Regions from separate parts of the Homo sapiens genome. Here all the other regions are linked to region 1. Evidence: promoter capture Hi-C in 16 types of primary human blood cells and fetal thymus (Javierre and others, 2016). All regions are on one chromosome and are shown on one strand. Each heading gives the region's core, a stretch centred on a gene start or on the middle of the fragment in contact. The rest is flanking DNA. Distances are from core to core; before and after follow the strand shown.

Region 1 (6,486 bases), core at 1,413-3,912:
CAGCCAGTCAGAAATGAGGCTGGTCCCCCTCTTCCCTGGCCTCCTGCCCCTTGGATTTGTTGGCACTTTGGCTGCCAACAGATTAATGAAATCTTTTCAATCCTGAAAGAAATGACAACCTCATCAGGAAAAAAGTGTATTTTCAGCATTAGATGGAAGATAATATCAAGAAACAAAATCTTTTCCTATGTAAGAGCTTTAATACTTACCTTGTGCAAAATGTTGTGAGTTAATATCGTGGTTTCAGGGGAACAATTTTTCTCCTCAAATCTTTAGAGTTATTTCCAGAATTTCAAAGCCTATTTCAAAAACTATAGTTTTGTCTAAAGTACAATCAGCTCTGTGAATGGAAGGGTTGCGGAAGGGAGAGTGTTCACACTGAGAGATGAGATAGTTATCTGCTTCCAATGCCAATGCATAACATGAATGCTGTCGAGTTTTTTTTAAAAAAGCTTGAGATTTGTAATGCCAAAAAAAAAAACCTCTAATGATTTTTTTAAAAGTTGAAACAAGATGAATTTAATTACTGAGCTGCTCACAATAACTAGGAAACAATTCCTCTGTTATAAATTGTATTTATGTATTTTTCCCATGCAAAAAGTACAGGAATTATGAAACACAAATGATTAGAATTGTACGTTAGATTTACATAGTGAATCTGAATAGAAATAACTCCTTTTCTTGGATAATAATATTTTACTTTAAATTAGGTTGTTATACTATTAAAGGAATCCAGATATATAAAGTTGTTATATTTTTCATCACAAAAGTATTTTTTAATGTAAAAAATTGTCACACTGTGTTTCATTATAAGGATTCATAAATTTGCCTCTTTTATTTTAATTTTTTACAGCTCTTTTTGAAGTACATTTTTTTTCTTTGAGACAGGGTCTTGCTCTGTTGTCCAGGCTGGAGTGCAGTGGCATGAATTTAGGTCAGCACAGCCTGGAACTCCTGGGCTCAAGCGATTGTCCTGCTTTGGCCTCCCAAAGTGTTGAAATTACAGTTGTGAGCCACTTCGCCTGGTCCAATTGCCTCTTTTAAAAAGAATTGTGTTTAGAAAAAGTGCTTGTTCATACCTGTTGAGGAGCACAGCTATCAGGAGAGCAAATGATTTTTTAAAAATATTTATTTATTTATTTATTTTTATTATTTTTTATTTTCTGAGACGGAGTCTTGCTCTATCACCCAGGCTGGAGTGCAGTAGTGCGATCTGCAACCTCCACTTGCTGGATTCAAGTGATTCTTGTGCCTCAGCCTCCTGAGTAGCTGGGATTACAGGCATGCTCCACTTTGCCCGGCTAATTTTTGTGTTTTTAGTACAGACGGGGTTTTGCCATGTTGCCTAGGCTGGTCTCGAACTCCTGACCTCAGGTGATCCACCCGCCTCGGCCTCCCAAAGTACTAGGATCAAGGCGTGACGACTATGCGTGGCCACAAATAATTTTTAAATCAATATTTAGAACACATTTAGGGTGAGTGTTTAGAGCTTGACAACTTTCTCATTGAAGATTATTCCGTTTAAGATTCAACAGCTCAAGAGTCTGCAAATCTAGATCCTTAACCAGAACTTGCTTTTATATCTTTTCCTTACAAGAAGAATACCCAGGCTGGGACTTCAAGGCCCCAGAGAGGCAGTGCAGCAAGTTCCTGGGTTCAAATCATCCTTCAGCTACTTCTTAGCTGTGAGACCTTGGGCAAGTTACCTAGCCTTTCTATGCCCCAGTTTCTTCATCTGTAATTTGGGGCTAGTAATCTCTTCTTCATAGGTTTGTTGCAAGATTAAATTAATTTACATTAAGGGCCAGGTGTGGTGACTCATGCCTGTAATCCCAGCACTTTGGGAGGCCAATGCGGGCAGATCACCTGAGGTCAGGAGTTCGAGACCAGTCTGGCCAACATGGCAAAACCCAGTCTCTACTAAAAATACAAAAAAATTAGCTGGGCGTGTTGGCGCACTTATAATCCCAGGTACTGGGGAGGCTGAGGCAGGGGAATCTCTTGAACCTGGGAGGTGGAAGTTGCAGTGAGCCAAGATCACGCCACTGCACTCCAGCCTGGGCGACAGAGCAAGACTCCATCTCCAAAACAAAACAAAACTAATTACTTTAAGAATTAGAACAGTTTATGACTGGTACATAGTAGATCCTCATTAGACACTAAAAATTATAATTACAATTGTTAATTATAATTATTTATTATTATAATTATATGAGCAATTATAGGAAAGCTCTCACTCTTTCTAAAGAATTTGCGTGAATAAAGGAAGACTAATTTTCTCAATGTCTTTTTAGTACACTCAGAATTTTCGGTACAGCAAATAATTTTCAGTGAAGTCAAAATTATTTAGATAAAGTCTTCTCTTCGTGCCCTAGCAGAAAATGTTCAGAAACAAAATGAAATAAAGAGACAAAGGAAAAAAAAAACTGGCAAAGGGTCAGGTTTTGAGAATTGTTTTCAAGAAGTCATTGTATTCAGATTGGTGGAGCAGGCTACTGTAAACCGTAAGTAGGAAATGAGAACCCGTTGTAAGTTGATAAAATGGATGTCTTTTCAACTAAACAGATTGCTATCAGCCTAACAGAGCCAACTCATGTTCCTTTTCGGCCGGTCATTTCCTGTACTAAGTGTCTATAAGAGCCGCCCATTTGGGTGTTTCTCAGGATTATAGGTTTTTAGGTCACGCAGAAACCCTGGGGAACGCCTGAAAAGGCTAAACACAAGCAGTTACATTATGCACAAGCTGGATGACGTGACCCCGCTGCTGCTGTGTGGAGAGGGAGGCTGCTGAACCCGAGCTGGTGTGAGCTTCTCTTGCCGTAAGTCCACGGGTGGCCAGGAGCACGTGTTAGTCTGGTTAAGAGCTCTGCTCAGAAGTAGCCGCTGCAGCTGAAGGTTTTCAGGCGGGCTGAAGGCTGGGCCGCTTCTTCATTCATTTCAGAAACTTGAACAGTGGGCCTTCTACACACGCTGTCTTTGTCAGCCTCAGGCAGTTCCTCCATGGATGAGACACAGGGGCCTCTGGCCATGACTGTCCATCTTCTTGCCAACTCTGGGCACGGCTCCCTTCTGCAGAGGACTCTGGACCAGCTCCTGGATTGCATTTGCCCAGAGGTCCGGCTCTTTCAGGTGTCTGAACGGGCCAGTCCTGTGAAATACTGTGAAAAGTCCCATTCCAAGCGGTCCCGGTTTCCAGGGATGTCCGTGTTGCTCTTCCTGCACGAAAGCCCGGGAGAGGATAGGCTATTTCGCGTCCTGGACTCTCTCCAGCATTCGCCATGGCAGTGCTACCCCACCCAGGACACTCGGGGAAGGCTGTGTCCCTACTTTTTTGCCAATCAGGAGTTCTACAGCCTGGACAGTCAGCTGCCCATCTGGGGGGTGAGGCAGGTGCACTGTGGCTCCGAGATCCTGAGGGTGACGCTGTACTGCAGTTTTGATAACTATGAAGACGCCATCAGACTCTACGAGATGATCCTGCAGAGAGAAGCGACCTTGCAAAAGAGCAATTTTTGTTTCTTCGTGCTCTATGCCTCCAAGAGCTTTGCTCTGCAGCTCTCCCTGAAGCAGCTGCCCCCGGGAATGTCAGTGGACCCCAAAGAGTCTTCGGTGCTGCAGTTTAAGGTTCAAGAGATCGGCCAGTTAGTGCCTCTGCTACCCAATCCATGCATGCCTATCAGCAGCACCAGGTGGCAGACTCAGGACTACGATGGCAACAAGATTCTGCTTCAGGTATTTCTGTTTTGTCTCAGATCTTGTAGAGGCTCATGGAGCTGTGTAATTTTACATCGGAATGGGCCTAAGCTAGTGGTTCTCAGACTTGGTTGCATATTAGCGTCCCTTAGGGTCTTTCATAAATTCCCACCCCAGGGCAGTTTGATCCGAATCTCTGGGAACATCCAGGCCTAGGTAACTTTTTTACAGCTTCTTGGATGACTGTAATCTGTAACAGGGTTGAGAATCACTGATCTCATAAAATCTCATCTGACAGATAAGAAAGTTCAGATTCCATGAATTTGCAGCTGACACAAGTACTTTATAGTAGAATCAGACAGGATTCTACTATAAAGATCAGAATCCTATTAAAGAATCGGCCTCCTTTCTCAGGCTTGCCGTTTAAATGCCCATCAACTATACCCCTATCCTTTGTTTACTCTTTGGGCTCAGGAATGTCACAAGCTCTTCTAATCTGACTTAAGGAAGTTGAAGTCATACTTATGTTTAGATATGGTTTTTTTAATTTTTAATTTTTTTATTTTTTAGAGATGGGAGTCTTCCTCTGTTGCCCAGACTCGAGTGCGGTGGTGCCATCATAGCTCCCTGAGGTCTTCACCTTCTGGGTTCAAGTGATCCTCCTGCCTTAGCCTCCTGATTAGCTGGGACTACAGGCACGTGCCGCCATGTCTGGCTATTTTATTTTATTTCTAGAGACGGGGTCTCACTATGTTGGCCGAGCTTGTTTAGGGATGTTAAGTTTGCAGTACTATTGACTTAATTTTTATTCTTTATTATTATACTTTAAGTTCTGGGGTACATGTGCACAAAGTGCAGGTTTGTTACACAGGTATACATGTGCCATATTGGTTTGTTGCACCCATCAACTCGTATTGACTTAATTTTTAAGCATCTTGCATCACTGTCAAATTTTACCACATACCAAGTTAGATAGAATGCTTTCTTAAAAAAACTTGAAATTAAAGCCTTCCTTTGTAACCATCCTCGAAAACCTAACATAGCATGTGTGTATTTAGTCATGATAGCTGCCGTGCATTGCCTTTCCATGGTATGTGAGCCTGGGCACTTAGTAGCTGTATGACTGTGGGCCTCAGTTTCTTCATTAGCACAATAAAGGCACCCGAGAATTAGCATCTTCCTCTCTCATACTTACTTACAGGAAATGACCTGACACTTATAAAGTACATAATTAAGATAGTGCCAAGAACTCAATTTTAGCTATTATTGTTCATATTATGCCCTATACTAAGGATTCTCTTAAATTGATAATTTTATTTAATACTTATAACAACCTATGAAGTTACTATTTTTCCCATTTTGGAGATAAGAAAACTGAGCTTTCCAGGGGGTCAGTTATTTGCCCAAGATAGGAAGTATCTATCTACCCTCAAAGTTCATGTGGTCAGCCGCTGCAGTCCAGTGTATGTGTGTAAATGTGCAAGCAGGGGGATGAATGTCATGTTCACAGCAAAATATCCTGTGGCTTCTGTCCTTAAGAAATGGTCAGAAGCTCCTTAAGGCCTATTGAATAAAGTAATAAGAGACTACAAGATGAGATGTCTTTCCATTTGGTTAATTTTGTTGTCATCACTTTGACTTGTTAATAAAACATGAATCATATTCCATATTAAATGATTTCTAAATTATTCACCTTCTTGCTCACATAAGGTAGACAGGCACTGTTTCTGTTAGTTGCCTATTATAAAACCCCATAATTTCCAAGGCATCTAAAATTTCTTTCAGTTTTAGCGACTCTCTAGTACTTAAAATCAACCTCATGGTCAAACAAAAATGTAATGTGTGTGTGCAGCAAGGGACATGATTTTAATCATTCCTGTCTTTAAGGCTGACTGACATTTTTGCTATGGAACCACAGTTTAAACAACTTAGTTACTTTGGAAAGTTGAGTCACATTTGGGGAGTGTAGAAGAGTTTTTTGGATAAAGAGAAACTCCATGAATTGTATGAAAAGAGCCCTCTTCCTCTCTGGATTGTCCCAGGAGCCTGGCCACTTCTCAGGTGTGAATGGGGCATCAGCCCCTCACTCTTTTGTTTTTGAGACAGAGTCTCTCTCTGTTGCTCAGGCTGGAGTGCAATGGTGTGATCTCAGCTCACTGCAACCTCTGCCTCCCGGGTTCAAGCAATTCTTGTGCCTCAGCTTTCCCAAGTGGCTGAGACTACAGGTGCCTGCCAACATGCCCAGCTAATTTTTGTATTTTTAGTGGAGATGGGGTTTCACTATGTTGCCCAGGCTGGTCTCAAACATCTGGCCTCAAGTGACCACCTGCCTCAGCCTCCCAAAGTGCTGGGATTATAGGCATGAGCTACCACGCCCAGCTGCCTCTCACTCTTGATAGCCCCCTTGGACATCACCTTTGTCCTGACCTCCAAACCTCAGAGACTTCTGCTTCCTCACTCCAAAACACGCTTTGATCTCCTCTTGTTAAGTCAATGAGTCTAAGCTTTTGCAAACAGAGTGAGAGATCGCCTTCTGGAAAATTCTGCTTCTGGTGTCATATAATAAAAGTGCCTGAGGAAAGTGTGTAAAGGCTCAGCCATAATCCAAAGACAACACATTGTAGCTCCTAGATAGCTTTTGATTCTTTGAATGGAGTGAATTTTTCAGGATAGAAAATTCTTGGGCGTGGTGGCTCAGGCCTGTAATACTAGCACTTTGGGAGGCTGAGGCAGGTGGATCACTTGAGGCCAGGAGCTTGAGACCAGCCTGGCCAACATGGTAAATCCCCCTGT
Region 2 (6,486 bases), core at 2,562-5,061, 460 kb after region 1:
GAGGCAGAGCTTGCAGTGAGCCAAGATTGTGCCACTGCACTCCAGCCTGGGCGATAGAGCCAGACTCCGTATCAAAAAAAAAAAAAAGTTAGCAGCCTTTATTCGGTCAAATATTTTATTCATGAATCATGCGTTTTGGGTAAGTTGCTAAATATTTGAGATTGCTGGTCAGGAGCAGTGCTGATAAATGTTTTTGGAAAGTGATTACTAAGCTGCTCTGGGACTGAAACGTTCTGGGGGAGCTTGCATCTGCTCACTTTTTCACTCGTGCACCACTGTTATTGCAGAGCCCAGGTAGATGACTGGACCAGGATGGGGTTGGCGTTTGAGGTTTCTGTTGTGTTCAGGCTCTTGCAACTTCCTTGAAGGGAGAACAACCTTTTTAGTAGGTGCTACACTTCATGAGATGTAATGAAAGCACATGGGCGTGGGTTTTTTCTTGGTGTTAGCCATGGTGGTTTGTTTTCACATTGTCATAAATACGTGTCACGTTCTTCACTCATTTACTCATTCATTTAGAAAAAGCTTTTTTATTGAGTGTCAGGCCCTGAGGACACAACAGGGGTCAAAAGCCACACTACCTTGGCCAGGCAAGGTGGCTCACGCCTGTAATCCCAGCACGTGTGTGGGGCCCATGCTAGACCTGTGGGGGAGAGACAGCTGACAGCTAAGTTGCTCTTTCCCAAGGGCTGAACAGTCTAGTGAAGAGATGGCCCCTATGTATTCAGCATCCAGTGCTGGGAAGACACAGGAAGAGGAGGCTCTTTGGGCTGGGGCCGGGGTTTGGGGACAGCCTCCTAGAGAAGGTCGTTGAGCTGGTCTTCATGGATAGAGGAGTGGCATCTAGAAAGGAAGGAGGGATGCACCCTCATCCCAGGCAGAGGAAGGAGGAAAGGACAGGAGGGAATTGTAAGAGGGAAAGAACCATAGCTATTTCTAAGTGACCAGAGCAAAAGGTGGGCAGTGACAATAGCAACAGAGAAGACTGAGAGCTAGAAGGACCCAGTGTCCGGTTTTGTTTTGTTTTTTAAATTAAAAAAAAAAAGTTTTTGGGGGCCAAGTGCGGTGGCTCACGACTGTAATCCCAGCACTTTGGGAGGCCAAGGCAGGCAGATCACCTGAGGTTAGGAGTTCAAGAACAGCCTGGCCAACATGGTGAAACCCCATCTCTACTATAAATACAAAAATTGGCTGGGTGCAGTGGCTCACACTTGTAATTCCAGCACTTTGGGAGGCCGAGGCGGGTGGATCACCTGAGGTCAGGAGTTTGAGACCAGCCTGACCAACATGGAGAAACCCCATCTCTACTAAAAATACAAAATTAGCTGGGCGTGGTGGCACATGCCTGTAATCCCAGCTACTTGGGAGGCTGAGGCAGGAGAATCACTTGAACCCAGGAAGCAGAGGTTGAAGTGAGCCGAGATCATGCCATTGCCCTCCAGCCTGTGCAACAAGAGTGAAACTCTGTCTCAAAAAACAAAAACAAAAAAACCCACAAAAATTAGCTGGGCATGGTGGCACACACCTGTGGTCCCAGCTACTTGGGAGGCTGAGACAGGAGAATCACTTGAACCTGGGAGGCGGAGGTTGCAGTGAGCTGAGATCACGCCACTGCACTCCAGCCTGGGCAACAAGAACAAAACTTTGTCTCAAAAAAAAAAAAAAGAAAGAAATAAGGAATTTGGACCTTATTTTGCAGGCAGTGTAGAACCATCAAAGAGTTCAAAACAAGCAAATGATATGATCGGAATTTGTAATTTAGAAATAACAATAGCTAACCTGTTGAAAGTCCCTTTTCTCTACGAGTACAGAATTGGACCTTATGTGTTATTGGATCCAATCCTCACACTTCCTCCCTATAAGGTAGGTACAGTCACCTTCTCTTATCAGCAGTTCCAAAATTTAGTGCATTCTAAACGTCAGAAGTGTGTATGTGTGTGTGTAAATTGGACCTGAAAACTCGTTTGGTGCTAAAATTTGGCCTGAACAAATGAGACTGTTTGTAATCTTTATTTACTGCATGCATCACAGTGGCATGATCTTGGCTCACTGCAACCTCTGCCTCCCAGGTTCAAGCGATTCTCCTGCTTCAGCCTCCCGAGTAGCTGGGATTACAGGCACCCGCCACCACACCCAGCTAACTTTTGTATTTTTAGTAGAGACAGGGTTTCACCGTCTTGGCCAGGCTGGTCTTGAACTCCAAACCTCGTGATCCACCCGCCTCGGCCTCCCAAAGTACTGGGATTACAGGCATGAGCCAGTAGCTTTTTACATTTAAAGTAGGGTCCAGCTGAAGTGAATTCATTTTACAAACGCTAAAAGCAGTGAGAACTAGCTGAGAGCATTTTGAGAAGAAAAGTGAAAGGTATGAAGGTTTTCCTGAAGTTAGTATCCACTTTTGTAAAATCTAGGCCAGTGGTTCTGGGCCAGGGGTGGTTTTCCCACCCAGGGAACATTTGGTAATATCTGGAGACATTTTTGGTTGTCATGATGTGGGGGAGGTGATATGGTTTGGCTGTGTCCCCACCCAAATCTTATCTTGAATTGTAGCTCCCATAATTCCCATGTGTTGTGGGAGGGACCCAGTGGGAAATAATTGAATCATGAGGGCAGTTTCCCCCATACTGTTCTCGTGGCAGTGAGTAAGTCTCAGGAGATCTGATGGTTTTACAAGGGAAAACCCCTTTGGCTTGGTTCCTATTTCTCTCTTGTCTGCTACCATGTAAGACATGTCTTCTGCCTTCCACCATGATTGTGAGGCTTCCCTAGCCACATGGAACTGTGAGTCCATTGAATCTCATTTTGTTTATAATTACCTAGTTTCTGGCATGTGTTTATCAGCAGTGTGAAAACGGACTAATACTGTATGTAACTAATACTGGCATCTAGGTAGAGGGTAGGGATGCATCTCAGTATCCTGTTATGCCCCACACCAAAGGATTATTGAGCCCCAAATGTCAATAGTGCTGATATTGAGAAACCCCAGTCCGGGCTTCATGTACTTATCTGGCCTCTCTAGAACACTGGTTCCTTAACTTGAATGTGCATCAGAATCACCTGGGGGTCTTGTTGAAATTCGGGTTGCTGGACCCCACCCCCAGAGTTTCTGATTTGGAAAGTCAGGTGGGGCCTGAGAGTTGGCATTTCTGCCAAGTTTCCAGGTGACGTTGATGCTGATGCTGCTAGTCCAGGGACCACACTTAGAACCACGGCTCTACAAGAAAGGAGGGTTATTTGTCACTGTGCTTGCCTATGTACAACCACCAAGAAAGAATACTGAATACAGAAATTAGCCAGGCATGGTAGTGTGCACCTGTAATCCTAGCTACTTGGGAGACTGAGACGGGAGGATCACTTGAGCCCGGTAGGCGGAGGTTGAGGTGAGCTGAGATCGTGCCACTGCACTCCAGCCTGGGTGACAGACCAAAACCCTGTCTCAAAAAAAAAAAAAAAATACTGCTTACATTTTATCCTCTTTTTTTTTGTCACCTTCTGGGATATATTTACCTGGGGTCATTCACAGATAGCCACCTAGTTCACTGTAATCAAACTGCATATGACAAAGCTAGATACGGTCAGCACTCCAAAGAGTATTAAGCCAATGTGGAATATCAAAGCTTAATGCCATTACACCTGGGAGTCACAGGTCATTAGTGGTTTGGGTGGTCAGCTTAGGGTTCTGCTTAGAAACCTTTATGGATTAATGTCTCGTGAATGGTTAATAGAAAATGGTACTACTTCTTGTATGAAGTCATTAGTATTTTGCTGAAGTAATAATTACCTTAAGCTCTTTAATTTAAATTTAAGTTTAAGAATTTGAACTACAGTGGTGACTTTCCTGGTAGGGGAAACAGAAAATAAGACTCTGCTTTCAGAGCGGAACTAAAATGGTGAGACAGTAGGAACCAGTATGTTTGCTTTTTGGACTTTTTTGCTGTGGACTGCACCAAAAATGTAGACAGTCAGTTGATTGAATGATACAATTTTTAAAAGGTAAAAGCTTTATAAAGCCTTATAAATAAGTTAAGGCTATAGGCCTACTGTCTTCACTTTTGAGAAATAGAGTTTGTGGATGGACGTACTTATACTGTTGCATTAGGGGCTCGTAGGCCAAGATTGGTTTCTGCAGGAAACTCAATTTTGTTTGTCCCAAGTTAAAGATAAATCTCATGTGATTTAAAATGTTTTGAGATGTTGCACTTAGGCTGGGAAAGAGTAAAGATTACAGAAAACCAACTTTTAGATGTTTTTTAGCATTTTCCTTTTTTAAAAATTATACCAAATATGTAATATATTTGCTTCCACTTAGATATATCTAAGTTTATTAAGATGGTTTGGGGAAAAATTTGTGTATTTACCAATTGTTCACATAGAAACAATCTTAAATAAATAACTTGATTTTTAAGTGTTATGCCTGGGAGGAAGGCTGGCATAGCTGGAATTCATTAGTTAATACAGAAAACCAGGATGTTAACTGCTGTATTTTCATTGTCATGCAGAGCCTAAAAGTAGACTTTAATTTGTGTTATAAAATAAACTGAAGACTTGAGAAGGCAGGAAGCCTGGGTGGCCACCCCACACATTTACTCCTGTATTGTTAGGGTGATCCTTCATTGTTACAATCATTTTCTTTTTATAGCATAGTTAAGAACAAAGGCTTGGGAGCCAGAATGCCTCAGTTTGAATCCCAGCCCTGTGATCTTAGACAAGTTATTTAACCTCACTGTATCACAGTTTTCTCATGTGCAAAATGGACATGAGTCCGTTTTGTACCTGCTTTACAGAGTTTTGTGAGGATTAGGTGAATTAAACCACGTGGAACAGTGCCTAGCACAGAGAAAACATTATGCAAGTGTTAGTTGTTATTGTTTTCATTCCCATTTATTTTCCATTTAATTGCTTTAATCTTAAAGACTGGGACAGAGAAAGCACTATACAAGTGTTAGCTATTATTATTTTCATTTCCACTTATTTTGCATTTTGTTACTTTAATCTTACGAAAGAGTAATATGTTTCTACTTTGTATGCATGTTTGTGTGTGCACGTGAATAAGTGAAAATAAAAAAATTTTTCCTGTTTGAATAGGACAATACCATTTGAGGGGTTATTTACAATCCTAAATTCTTAGAACTGCCTTTGAGTCATGCCTTTTCTTTATTTCCATATTTGGTTACTTGCAGGTCATGTCAGTGATTAGTTTCACTTAGACATCTTTCCCCTGCTATATTTGAGATCCTCAAGATCGGGTTCATTGATTCACTAGAAAGATTGACACATTATAGTCATACGCATGGCTGTGATTTATCATAGCCAAAAGACGCAAAACAAAATCAGCACATGGGGTGAAATCCAGAGGAAACCAGACACAAGGCTTCCAAGAGTCCTCTTCCTGTGGAGTCACAGGACAGGCTAATTCAGATTGAATTAAGACAACATGTGTGAAATATTGTTTATCAGGGAAGCTCCTTAGAGACTTTATTCAGTGTTAGAGGCTGGTCATGTAGGTGCCCTTGGCTAATGTTCCAAAATTCCAAACTCTCAGAAGGAAGGTAGGTGGTCAACATAAACCACATATTTTATACAGGCATGAAGCACAGTGAGCCATTCTTAGGAGTTAGGGAATGGTGAGGTCCCCTCTGGATAAACAAGGTCCCAGACACCTGCCAAGGGCCAACCTTGCAAGCAAGACTTTCTAAGGACAGCAGCAGCAGGCCTGCTGTGGGAACTCTTTTCTGCCCACCTGCCCATAATTACCCTAGTGTTTGTCCTCATCATCTTTTAAACCTCATTTTTCAAAGCCTATTAACTGGCTTCCCTGAGTTCCAGCATACTGTACTTGGATCTGTCCCACTAATCTCCTATCTTTAACTAGGCTTTTATTGTGTCTTTTTCCTGCTCATGACCTTTCATTAGCTCCTTATTTAATCATGTCTGTAAAAGGACTTTGGGGGCCGGGCGCAGTGGCTCATGCCTGTAATCACAGAACATGGGGAAGCTGAGGCAGGCAGATTGCTTGAGGCCAGGAGTTAGAGACCAGCCTGGCCAACATAGTCAAACTCTGTCTCTACTAAAAATACAAAAATTAGCCAGGTGTAGGGGCTCATGCCTGTAATCCTCCCAAGAAGCTGGGCTGAGGCACGAGAATTGCTTGAACCCAAGGGGCATAGGTTGCAGTGAGCCAAGATCATGCTGCTGCCCTCCAGCTTGGGCAATAAAGCAAGACTCTGTCCCCAAAAAAAAAAAAAAAAAAAAGGACTTTGGGAACCCCATAACTGCTCCCTGCTAAGCTTTATTTCCACCTTCTATCTCTCATTTATTATGGTTCTTTTGTGTCCAGTGAAGTCAGTGTGTGTTCTGTCCCACTCACACCTGGTACATTTCCCACCTGGGTGCCTTTGCCTCCCTCACCAGGAACCTCACTTGCCCTCTCTCCTGTATTCAGACCCTCCTTCATCTCCTAGATCCACTTCAAGTTCCACCTCCTCC
Region 3 (6,486 bases), core at 3,987-6,486, 420 kb after region 1:
AAATTCCCTATTAAGTATCAAGTTTGTCATTTGAGAACCTTTCTAGGTATATGTAAAATATGTCTATGAAACTTTTTACATACATAGGATTGTACTGTAGTTTCTGTTCTATAATCTGCTTTCATTAGAGAGTGGACAACTTTTTGTGCCAATTCATAAGGATTTACTTGATCCTTTTATCAGCCACATAATATTCCATAATACAAATGTATCATGCTATCCTATGGAAAGCCATCTGCTTTTTTCCTATAACAACACTGCAGTGAGTATTCTTGTACATAGGTTTTTCAATATTTGCATCAGTAAATTTCTAAAGGTAATTTCCTGGGATAGGAATAGGAATGGAATAGGAATCTCCAAGTCATAGTTGTTACAAATGTTTTATGGTTATGAATTTAGACATTTGAGACTTTATTTTGGAAAAAAAACATGAAGAATAACAAATTTATATTTCCATCTTCTTTTCTCCTGAGTTTCTAACTCATACCTGTCTGTTCACATTACGTCTTAACTTGGTTGCCTACTAAATTCTAGTTGCATAGATGAAACTCATTTATGCCAAGGCACCATGGCACACACCTGTAATTCCAGCACTTTGGGAAGCTGAGGCAGGAGGATGGCTTGAGCCTGGGAGTTCAAGATGATCCTCGGCAACATAGCGAGACCCTGTCTCTACAAAAAAATGTTTAAAAATTAGCCAGGCATGGTGGTGCTCACCTGTGGTCCCAGCTGTTTGGGAGTCTGAGGTCGGGGGTTCACTTGAGCCCAGGATGTTGAGATGCAGTGAGCCCTGATCACATCACTGCTTTCCAGCCTGGGGAACAGAGCAAGACCCTGTCTCAGTAAATAAATATATGTATTGCCCTTGCCCATTTAGTTCTCAACCCATCGTTCCTTAGCAGCAAATGGCACCAATACTCACCCAGTTACTTACGCCACCCCTCCTTCCCCAGCTACTGTCCCCGAACTCCCTTTGGACTCCAGCCTAGAATGTAGAGTATTGCACACGATGGAGCATTTTGCTGTTGTTTTTCCAAAATATCCATTTCAATTTCTACTAAAGTGCAGTCTAAAAAGTTTCTTAAGTCCTCAGGAAATCCATATTTACTTGTAGTAGAAGGTAATTAGAGGGACTTTCATCTATAAAGGTTTCCTGATATTAAATATTTAAGATACCCTCTTTGATTTTACAGTGTGAGCTCTTAACATTTCAGTGAGCCTAGTTACGTCTTCCCTAGTAGCACTTAAAGTGGAAATCAGATTACTTCAGGGGCTTTCTGGAAAAACTGGGTCACCCAAAACACCACTTAGAGAAAGTTCTAAATCTCCTCCACATTTTTAATGCTTGATTCTTCACTTATTGTCTCCCATTAGAAGTTTTGTTGACCACCATTCATCTAAGAGAAAATCCTTATTTTCTCTTTTTCACCTCCGCTCCTTTTCAGAATGAATCAACCTATTATACTTACGTTTTTATACACTGCAGAAATGACCCTTGTTAAAGAATACTCAGTCTGCCTTCCAGAGGTTAAAGAATAGAGAGCATCGGGTAGGGGATTTTAAAGGGAAAAGCTCTGGGACGATGAGAGGCTCCATGCTCTGACACAAGGCTCCCAAGTCCCCTTCCTTACTTGATTCATTCTGCTTGGGAGTTGTGCTTTTATCAGCTACGTAATATTCCATGTAGTTTACCTGGGTGGGCCGATTTTGTGTTTAGACTGTGAGCAGGGACCTCACATTGCAAGAAGTGAGGTATTTTACAAAGCTTCTTACATCAAAAGACGGCAGTTTTTGCTATGGGCCAGCTTATGCTGAGCACTTTGTATGTGTTGTCTCAATGAATTTTCATAGCTCTGTAAAGTAGGTGCTATTATTGTAGGCTTTTACAGATAAAGAAACTAAGACTTGGAGTCAAGGAACTTGCCAAAGTCTCAGAGCTAGTGTGCTACAAGTGCAGGATTTGAATACAGGTCTTATAACCCCAGATCTCGTGGCTTTGGCACGTGTCCTCTATAAAAGGATGCAGTACTTGAGTGACCAGGTAGAAAGACAGAAAAGGTGTTATTTTATCTCCCAGCTCCTCAAGGCACCAAATAAAGGTAAGCATGCGTATGTCTGATGCACCCTGGCTACCACTGGTCATCAGCTTCTGTGGTCAGAAGCAGAAGGAGTGGGGGGAAATCAGTCATCAAGCAGAGGTGACTGGATGCGGTTCATGGTTATTAATATTACTGATCAGTTAATAATGGGTCCAGCCAAGGATGGATTAACTGGTGAAGCTAGATGATCTCTCTCCTCCCTTGAACACATTCCAGCTCATAACTTTTCATTATTCATTACTTCAATCCTCCTTAACAGAAATAGTAAACATTTCTAGAAGCAGTTAACACCTCCAGGTCCTTATTTCATGCCCTGGAGCAATCACTTATTAACCACTTCCCATATTTCACAGTTTCTGAAAATTAGCTCCGCCAGAATAGAGATTTAATGTTTTCTTCAAGGATTAAAGAGCTCATTAGGAAGTGATTTTTTTCTCACTTTCCCATTGATTTTTCCGTTTCTGCTGAGACCATTTTGTTATGCAGGCTAAGAGTAAAGACGAAGAATCCTCTCTTTCATTCTTAGGTTGCCGCAAGACAGAAGCCAGGCTTGGGTGAGAGTTCAACACACATGGGAGCTGAGGCGAGCTGCACCCGGGTTACTGAACAGCCCTGCAGGAAATGCAGTGTGCTAGGACCAGGAGAGCCCCAGTTCCTCTGCCAGTTCTCTATGTTGTTTCTTCCTTAGGGAAAAACTGTAGTGTCATCCTGTGGTGCCATATATTCTAATAACCTCAGTATTTTTATGATATTTCAGTGTTCATCAAGTACACTCTCTTTCCCTCTCTTGGTATCTTTCTCTTCATCTCTCCCTCTGTCCATCCCTCCCAACCCTGTTCTATGGAGAACTGGCATATTGAAGTTCCCTGTCTCAAAGGCAGTGATTGGCACATGTCATCTCCAAAGAAAAGATCAGTGAAAATCGTGCAAGAAACTTGCTTTCTCTCTTCTTGTTTGCTGAACTCCCTAAGATGTGGAATCTGTTTTGTCTATAGAGCATCTTGCAGGTAGACTGTTCTCCAAATAACATTTGAGAAATGCTGGCTTAAATTATTCTTGGGTTTTCATTAGTAAGTAGAAGTACCATAAAGTATCTAAAACTCCAGTGGTGATTACTGGAATGGGTGAAGAGTGAATAGGGCAGGGTGGTGAAGTAGGAGGAAGACAATCCTTGGCATTAGACTCTCCTGGCTCCTCACTTCTTAGCCGTGCATCCTTTGGAGGTTACTTCATTTCTCTAAAGGTGGCTTTCTCAACTGCAAAATAGCACTGCTTACGCCTACCCCGTGAGGTGCTGTAGATCCTCAGCCTGTTGAAGGGTTGATATGGGCCTGGCACAGAGTGAGCCCTGTGGATGCTCTGTATCCCTGTCTCTCTTCACCTGCACATGTAGGCTTATCCAAAATGAGGACTAGAGGTAATAAAATTGCACCATGTTGGGATTCCTGCTCAATGAGTAAATTTTAGCCGCTCTTGTCCCAAAAACAGCAAAATGGGTAATTATGTGAGATAATGGATATGTTAATTTGCTTTTTCATAGTAACTATTTTACTATCTATATGTATCCCATAACGTCATATTGTGTACCTTAATATACACAATACACTTTATTTAAAAAAAAAAAAAAAAGGAATGATTCTAAGGCAGCTTGAATGTATTCTTTTATTCATGTGAGGGTCAACTTCTTGCAAAGCACTGAATTTTAAGCACTTTGTGATTTAGTTAAATTCTCCTTAACAGAATTAAAGTGATTTCAGTGATTCCCAAAGGCATTCTGTCTAGACTGAAGAAAGGAGAATTCTTCACTGGGGAAGGAAGAAATAATTGTCCTTGTCTTTGTCCTTCTAAGGAAGCTATTTGTGGAAAAGGGAAGTTCTCCAACTGAGTTGCTCTCTGAAGCTATCCCGGTGACCAGCAAGCACTCATCCTGCTTCTAGAAGTCAACAAGGATACACTGAACCTGCTTCTGATTTCTTTAGGGTCGACAAGTGCCCCCAATGATTTATGGTACAACTTCATTGAACTGCCCTACCACGGGGAAAGCATCAGCATGCTGATTGCACTGCCGACTGAGAGCTCCACTCCGCTGTCTGCCATCATCCCACACATCAGCACCAAGACCATAGACAGCTGGATGAGCATCATGGTGCCCAAGAGGGTGCAGGTGATCCTGCCCAAGTAAGTGGCCCCTTCCCCTCAAAGAAAACAGTGGCATTATTCAATCAGCAGGTGTTATGTCGGACACCAGACAACATGAGGCGAAAATATGGCACATCATGAAGCCTGTTCTGTTCTGCAGAAATTTCATGGTGGGATTACGAGGCCGTGCTTTTCTAAACGCTTTTATTCAATGCCTGTGCTTCCTGTATGGTAAGATATGGATCATAAGAAAGGAGAGAGGGCAACCTTGGTCTCTAAACCTCCACATGAGCATAAGCAGTTCATGGTACTGCAGGGGCTTTTTGACATATCTCATTGTATTTAAAAGACTGAAAACACACGTGTGTCATCATAGTATGGATGAAAGTACAGTGAGGTTTAATAGAACTCCATGTGCTTTCATAAGGAGCTTCATTTTAGTTATTTATTTATTTAACTAGAAGTTCATGAAGACCAAGGCAGCCAGTTTTTCTATTATACCCTAAGAGTAAGACAAAGATGGAATTTGAGCTGTTATGACTTGAAGCCATGGGAAAAGTAACCCCAAATCCTGTATGAATCTTCATGTTCTAACAGGTCAGAGAATGCTTTGTCCAGAACTGTGAAGAAGCAATGAATGTTGTTCCCTTTCTATGAACTTTTCAACATTGCTGCCTTCCCACCATCCAGAGCTTTTAACAACCCAGGTCTTGGTGGTAGTGGAGAGTTCTAATAGCTTTTGATTCTTTGGTCACCGAGTTAAGTAATCAGAGTAAGACATTCACAATAAGTATTACTAATTCTCTCAAGATTTTTTTTTTTTGTAAAATAAGCCTTCAAGTAGGCAATGCTTGATATAAATAAATAAATAAGATGGTGGCATCGTAGGCCTCAATGGGTGAAGAACAGGTTCTTTACCATTATAGCCCATCTGTGGTGAGAATCTGCCCACGTCTCCTTAGTGCTCTTCCACAGGATGAGATCAAATCTGATAAAGCATCCTCTGATGACAGTAACTGACATTTACACACACACACACACACACACACACACATATACACACATATATATACGTGTGTGTGTGTGTGTGTGTGTGCATATATCTCCATATATCCCCAAGGCCAAGTAGGTCACAAATATTCAAGAAACCTATATTATACCCAAATATAATACCGTGTCACCTATGCCTAATCTTTGCTCCTGTTTTAATAGTAAAATACTTTCAGAATCTCAAAAGGGGCTGGGCGTGGTGGCTCACACCTGTAATCCCAACACTTTGGGAGGCCGAGGTGGGCGGATCACGAGGTCAGGAGTTCCAGACTAGCCTGGCCAACATGGAAAAACCCCGTCTCTACTAAAAATATAAAAAATTAGCCAGGCATGGTCGTGGGTGCTTGTAATCCCAACTACTTGGGAGGCTGAGGCGGGAGAATTGCTTGAACCCAGGAGGCAGAGGTTGCAGTGAGCCAAGATTGCACCATTGTCCTCTGGCCTGGGCCACAGAGCAAGACTCTGTCTCAAAAAAAAGAATCCCAAAATGAACTATCAGGAATGTTTCTCCTCTCTTTTGACCATCTCCAATCCCAATAAGGATGGCAGGTCTTAGAGCAGCCAAGATGGATATGGAGAACTTTAGTTGGATATGGGGAAGAATAATAGATATTCCAGAGTACTAGGAACTTGTTAACACTCAACCTCCACGTCAGTATAAAAGAAAGTATGTTTGTAGATCTTCCTAAGTATTGGAACAGGGGGCCCATTACACCTGAGGGTGGGAGCGCCTATTCTTGCCGTTAGTACATATGACTCATTTTGCCAGCTAAGTGTTTGAGAGAGGAGTTGTCCTTTACTTATCTGGTATTTAAATTTGGAATTCAAATTTAAGATGCAATTCAGATCGGTATTCAGATATTAACTTTAAAAGAATCAGTTTGTAAACATGCACCGACTCTATCATGTAGCATTTATAGCCTCGTGATTTTTTTTCTCCATTTCTGCTTTCATGCTAGGTTCACAGCTGTAGCACAAACAGATTTGAAGGAGCCGCTGAAAGTTCTTGGCATTACTGACATGTTTGATTCATCAAAGGCAAATTTTGCAAAAATAACAAGTATGTTCAATTTAAAATGTATTTGTATACTTGAAGAAAGTGTTACAAACTGAGACTGATTTGTGCAGAGAAAAAGGATCAGAATTAGGAATGTGTTGCCCTGAAACTGTACAAGGTTTCATTTGATACATTGCCAAA
Region 4 (6,486 bases), core at 2,754-5,253, 270 kb before region 1:
ATAACCTGTGAGTCCCCCTTTTATTTGCTCTATGAAGTAGCTTAAATGGTTATTGCTGAAACTAGATTCTATTGAGATTTGGACTTTTTATTTGTTTGTTCCAAGTAAATCTTTCACACAACTCTAGCAATGGTCTTTGGTGTTTGGTGAAGAATAATGCTACCTATCGTATCATCATTGTGGTAGACCGTTTAAAAGCCAGAAATTCCACCCATCTGACGTTGCATCCTTTGCAGTGTGACTTTGCTGATTCTCCCATCCAGAATTAGAGTCTATTCGTCAACCTTCCTGAATCTGAGCTGGGTTTGTAACTTGCTTTAATCAATAGAATGTGCTGGAAGTGATGTGATGCAAGTCTCAGCCCCTCAGTCTCAAGAGACTTTGCAGCTTCCACATTTGTCTTTTGGAAAACTGTCCTGGAATAGCCAAGTGAGAGAGGTGGTCTAGCCTAGTGAAGGATGCCAGACCATGAAGGAGAACTGAGGCACCTCAGCCAGCACCAACTGCCCAGATGTGTGAGGGAGGCCATCCTGGAGTTCAAGCCCCGGGGACCTCCAGCTGAAGGCCATTGCATGAATGCACCTAAGCAAACCCAGTGAAGAACCTGCCAAGTCAATCCTTAGAAACATGAGAAATAATAAGTCATTGTTTTTAAGCCACTACATTTTGGGTGCTTTGTTCAGTAGCAATAATTAAGTTATACAGCCATGCTGTATGTTTCAATTAATCTTGATAAGGAAGGACTCTGAGTTCTATAACAGAACAGAAGTAATAATGTGATAGTACCTCACAGTCAGCAGCGCCTGCAATAATACAGCAGAGCTCACATCATTGAGTAATGGTGCAATACATTGGCCCATCCTTACTCTTCCCTACTAAGAGGAAGTGGGTTAATTCCTAATTTTTAAAAACTTGTAAAAAGTTGTATAAAAATTGTATACATATATAATTTATATCACCTTTATATATATTTATATATAAATATAACCATTATATATATTTTGATATATTTATATGTAAATATATATTTTGATATATTTATGTGTAAACATATATTTTGATGTATTTATAGGTAAACATACATTTTGATATATTTATATGTAAACATATATTTTGATATATTTATATGTAAACATATAATATATTTTGATATATTTATATGTAAATATATATTTTATATTATATATTTACATATATTTTATATATTTACATATAAATATATAATATATTTTAACATATTTATATATAAATCTTTATATATGTTATATATTTATATATTTAAATAATATATTTTTATATATTTATATATTTAAATAATATATTTTTATATATTTATATATAATATATTTTTATATATTATATATTTTATATAAATATATAATGGTGATATAAATTATATATAAATTATATTTATATATATAGTGGTGATATAAATTATATATATGTATACACCATTAATTATTCTCCATCTGAAGGAGTCAACAACAATGACATAATCAAGAAAATGAGCCCTCTGCATTATCAGGTTCTCCTTACACTTGGAAAATATGAGCAAAGCTTGCATAGAAGTACAATGCATGATCATGTAAGAGAAGAAGATGATTCAACAGAGAGGAGGATGCTAGGAATTGCCCCACCACACAGGCAGAGCATTAGTTGTGGTAGAAACAAAGCAAAGCTTTCCAGAATAAAACCACTGATAACTCAGCGTTTATTTTTCAAGAGAAATGGGTAGGAATTACATTGAAGTAATATCTTCCTCCATAGTCTGTTAATTAGATGATCTGAATAAAGATACTTCATAATATTCCCTTGCATTTCTAAAATGTTTATAAGTTTTAACTTTCATTTTCAAAAGATTTAATTTGATTATGGGAGATAAGATACGGTATATTTTATTATCATCACTGGGGGAAAAAAATAGCAAAATTTGAAGTCCAGACAAAAATTTGCCCAAATTCTAACTGATGAACACATAAATATTTCTCATTTAGTGCTAGAATCACCTCAATTTCAGCAGACCATAGTGAGGGGGTTGAGGGACTCTAATTCAGAAGCAAAATGAGTGTTAACAGTTTTCATTTAGAGTTGTTTCTTTTTTAGAATTCAGTCTCTTGCCACCTTTCCCCAGTTTCATATTCAGCGGGTCTGAGTTGAATCCCTGAACCTGCTTTTTTTTTCTTTTTTTTTTTTTTTCCCTGAGATGAAGTCTCGCTCTGTTGCCCATACTGGAATGCAGTGGTGTGATCCCGGCCCACTGCAACCTCTGCCTCGTGGGTTCAAGCAATTCTTCTGCTTCAGTTTCCCTTGCAGCTGGGATTACAGGCATGTGCCACCACGCCGGGCTAATTTTTGTATTCTTAGTAGAGACAGGGTTTCACCATGTTGACCAGGCTGGTCTCGAACTACTGACTTCAGGTGATCCACCCATCTCGGCCTCCCAAAGCGCTGGGATTACATGCAAGAGCCACCGCACCCGGCCTGAATCTGCATTTTTAATAAGCATCCCGGGTGATTTTTATGCAAGAGGTCCTTGGATCAGTTTTGGAAAACGATGCAGGGGTTTAAAACACAATGTTTGGAGTAACCTGAGTCCAGCCCCAGCTCTGTCCTGGCTGCTTGACGTCAGACAAGTTTATCTTTATGAGCCTCAGAATCTTCACTTATAAAATGAGGACCATAATTACTTTGTTCAGGCTGACATAACAAAGTACCACAAACTAAATTTATTATCTCACAATTCTAGAACTACAAGTCTGAGATCAAGAGGTTGCCAGGGTTGGTTCTTGCTGGGGGCTGTGAGGGAGAATCTGTTCCATGCCTCTCTCCGAGCTTTGGGTGGTTTGCTAGCAGTCTTTGACACTCCTTGGTTTGTAGATTTCTGCCTTCATCTTCACATGGTGTTCTCCCCATGAGACTGTCCGTGTCCAAATTCCCCCTTTTGTAAGGACAACAATCATGTTGGATTAGAGGCCTACCCTACTTTAGTATGACCTCATCTTAACTGATTACTATTATGTCTTAACAATGACATCTTAACTAGTTTTATTCCATTGTCTCCTGAAACACTGGGAGTGTGAGCCTCCTTTCTACCTTTACTATAGGTTATGACATATAATTATCATTTAAACAAGAGAAATGGCCCTTTCAAAATGGTTCTTGTATACTAGAAAGATAAATGATCTGTGTTTTCTTTATTTTACAAAATATAAGAAATATAGCAATTAGGAAAACCTTACCAATGCACTCAGGGTCTGAAAGCTGTGGGAAACAAAGCAATCACCTTGGTGCTTTCTCTGCTTTTAGAAAGAAACTTATTTTTTAAAATCCTGCTTTTAATTATATTACTTAGGCCCCAGGGTACTGAGTCTTTTCTAATTGTTTGCCTTTTGTATAAGGGTTTTTCCATTGTTTCAAGGTTTTATTTACTTACGTATAATTCAACTAATAGAATTGTTGACTCTCTTAGAAGTTAAGGTAGTTTGCCGGGTGCAGTGGCTCATGCCTATAATCCCAGCACTTTGGGAGGCGAAGGTGGGTGAATTACCTGAGGTCAAGAGTTCCAGACCAGCCTGGCGAGACCCCATCTCTACTAAAAATACAAAAATTAGCCACGCATGGTGGCTTATGCCTGTAATCCCAACTACTCAGAAGGCTGAGGCACAAGAATTGCTTGAACCCGGGAGGCGGAGGCTGCAGTGAGCCAATATTGTGCCACTGCACTACAGCCTGGGTGACAGAGTGAGTCCATCTAAAAAAAAAAAAAGAAATTAAGGTAGTTTAAAGGGTTTATTGTTTAACTTAATGATTAAATTCCCCATGTTGTCCCAAAATATGGCACTTCTTACAAAGAAAAGAGACACCATTAAAAAGTAAGTAGAATTGCGTAAGAGCAATTTTCAGAGTAACTATCTATTCTCATTATCCCCCAGCAAATTAGCCACTTCACAGATTATTTGCTGAAAACGTAAACTCTTATCAAAGACAGGATGTGAAAGCTAAGGTATTTGCATTACCATTAACCCTCTAGTGACTCTGCAACTCTGAAAGCTCTCAAAATATGTCATTTCTTGGCTGGCTGATCACCCAAATATGACAAAGACAGGTGTTATGGTTAATTTTATGTATCAACTTGACTGGCCATGGGGTGCCCAGATTAGACATTGTTTTTGAGTGTATCTGGGAGGGTATTTCCAGATGCAATTAGCATTTGAATCAGTGGACTCATTGAAGTAGACTGCTCTTCCCATGTATATGGGCATCATCTGATCAATTGAGAGCCTAAATAAAAGAAAAAGTGGAGAAAGGAGAAATTTGCCCTGCTCTGCTGAGCTCGGACACCTCATTTCAGCTTCTTGGCCCTCAGAACGTGATTTACATAATTATTTCTCCTGTTTTCCGTCCTTCTGACTGAATTGTACCACTGGCTTTCCTGGGTCTCCAATTTACAGATGGCAGATTGTGGGACTTCTCAGGCTCCATAATTGCATGAACCAATTTCTCATGAACCAATGCCTAGGTGACAGAGCGAGACTCTGTCTCACAAAAAAAATAAATAAATAAAAATGTATATATATATATCCATATGTATATTACTGGTGCTCTTTCTCCGGAGAACTCTGACTAATGCAGTTAAGGAACTATATATGCATCTAACTATGCATGCATATGTAATGCATGCAAGTTTTCTATAAAGTTGTAGAAATTTCTAGTTAGGGTCATCAGCATATGATCAGAGTCTGACCTTTTGTAAAACTCGAAGAAATATTCTCCAAACTCCTTCAAAATTACATTGCGGTCAATATATGGTAAGATAAAGAAAACTGGGTATGCTTTACACTTCAGCAATGTCTTCCTTTTTTTCTTTTTTTTTTTTTGAGACGAAGTCTCAATCTGTCACCTAGGCTAGAGTGCAGTGGCACGATCTCGGGTCACTGCAACCTCCACCTCCTGGGTTTCAGTGACTCTCCTACCTCAGCCTCCTGAGTAGCTGGGATTAAAGGCACCTGCCACTACGCCCGGCTACTTTTTGTATTTTTAGTAGAGACGGAGTTTCACCATGTTAACCAGCATGGTCTCCATCTCCTGACCTCGTGATCCGCCCGCCTCAGTCTCCCAAAGTGTTGGGATTACAAGCGTGAGCCATCGTGCCTGCCCCTAGTAATGTCTTTCTACATATTCCTTTAGTTAAATCACCTGTGAAAGGTAACATAACATTACCTTGCCTTTGTAAAATCCTTTATAATTTTTAGAATTCATTTGAGGGATTGAATTTGATCCTGTGAAGTAAGGTAAGGCACATTTTATTGTCCCCACTTTTAAAGGCAGACTCTAAAGCCCATTAGATTTTGCAGTCTTGTAGGAGATAACTACTGTTTTGGCCTGGCCAACATCCAGCCACCCTCTAGAAGTCAGTGCCTGGTCTTTCAAGGAACTAACCCTTTCCCAACACTTAGGTTACAGGATTAGATGAGTCGACCTCATACCCACAAACCTCCTGTCTCTAAAGAGAAGCATGTGATTCAAATTAGCCAATAGGTGCATCCCATTTCCCTGGCCACATTGACTGATTCAGGGTGGGGCACATGACCCATGATGTTTCAAAAAGAATTGAATCTGGTCCTTTTATTATAACTGTTGTGAAAGATGAGCTTTTCCTGAAGATGCTAACCTTGCATGATGCCTTCTTTGTCACCACAAGAGAGAACTTGCCCAAAAATGAAGCCAACATGAAGAGAAACAGAATCGGGAATTGAGAGGGACATATTATTGGTGACGTTGGGCCCCATATTATTGGTGAAGCTGTGCCTGCAACACTACTGCTTGACTTTCTAGATAAGTGGGCAATATGTATTTCTCTTTTCTGGAGAAAAGAGAAATATGTATTCTTTTTCGTCCAGTTTAAGTACAATTTCTGTTACTTGATACTAAAATAGTCCTTACTGAATACAGTTAAAAATTCTAGGCCAGGCACAGTGGCTCATGCCTATAACCACAGCAGTTTGGGAGGGCAAGGCAAAAGTATCCTGAGCACCTAATTGGAAACTGCAATAAGCAGACACAAAAGAACATCAAGATTTGGTGGCATCTGCTCAGCCTTTAAGTTAGCATGGACATACCAATGTGTGTCGGAGGATTACTTGAGCCCAGGAGTTCAAGACCACACACACACAGTGTTTCTCAGAGGGGATATTCTGGATCAAATGAGGTTAAGTGATGGTTTAGGCTTTCTAAAATCCATCTCGGTGAAGCAAATATAATGGTTTCTCACCTTGTCTTTGAGACGGTGTGGGTCTCACTCCAGGTAGGAAAGGATAAGCAAGCTTGGTGAGGCTTTTCTGATTGCTGGAAATCAAGTCTCCATTACCTGGGAACCACAGAAACAGTACTGCCTTTGGTCTCAAGCAACAAGGGCTGCAAAACTGAACCTCACACATTAGAGGAACCCACTCTGGCCTTCATCTGGCTACTGGCTCTCCCCACAGA

What was found. The method cuts DNA at HindIII sites, captures the fragments that hold promoters and counts their contacts. A CHiCAGO score of 5 or more calls a contact.
Region 2: a fragment that was not itself captured here is called in contact with the fragment with the promoter of FAM124B in region 1 in 1 of 17 cell types (erythroblasts); the score reaches 5.7 in erythroblasts.
Region 3: a fragment that was not itself captured here is called in contact with the fragment with the promoter of FAM124B in region 1 in 1 of 17 cell types (megakaryocytes); the score reaches 5.4 in megakaryocytes.
Region 4: a fragment that was not itself captured here is called in contact with the fragment with the promoter of FAM124B in region 1 in 4 of 17 cell types (neutrophils, activated CD4 T cells, naive B cells and 1 more); the score reaches 6.7 in neutrophils.

The regions. Positions count from the first base shown.
Region 1 is chr2:224,398,283-224,404,768 of GRCh38, reverse strand. It overlaps FAM124B (family with sequence similarity 124 member B), which reads left to right and starts at 2,662. Exons shown (of 2, transcript NM_001122779.2): 1 at 2,662-3,732. The coding sequence starts at 3,001. The HindIII fragment of the contact is 5,745 bases long and covers 455-6,199 here.
Region 2 is chr2:223,935,825-223,942,310 of GRCh38, reverse strand. All of the region lies in intron 1 of WDFY1 (WD repeat and FYVE domain containing 1), which reads left to right. Among named protein-coding and RNA genes, the nearest start is that of WDFY1, 6.3 kb to the left of the region's middle. The HindIII fragment of the contact is 383 bases long and covers 3,620-4,002 here.
Region 3 is chr2:223,982,543-223,989,028 of GRCh38, reverse strand. SERPINE2 (serpin family E member 2) reads left to right here. Exons shown (of 9, transcript NM_001136528.2): 5 at 4,079-4,277; 6 at 6,248-6,348. Among named protein-coding and RNA genes, the nearest start is that of MRPL44, 28 kb to the right of the region's middle. The HindIII fragment of the contact is 6,938 bases long and covers 1,768-6,486 here.
Region 4 is chr2:224,664,756-224,671,241 of GRCh38, reverse strand. LOC105373909 (a long non-coding RNA gene) reads right to left here. Exons shown (of 3, transcript XR_923955.1): 3 at 6,285-6,367. Among named protein-coding and RNA genes, the nearest start is that of CCDC195, 48 kb to the left of the region's middle. The HindIII fragment of the contact is 4,645 bases long and covers 1,681-6,325 here.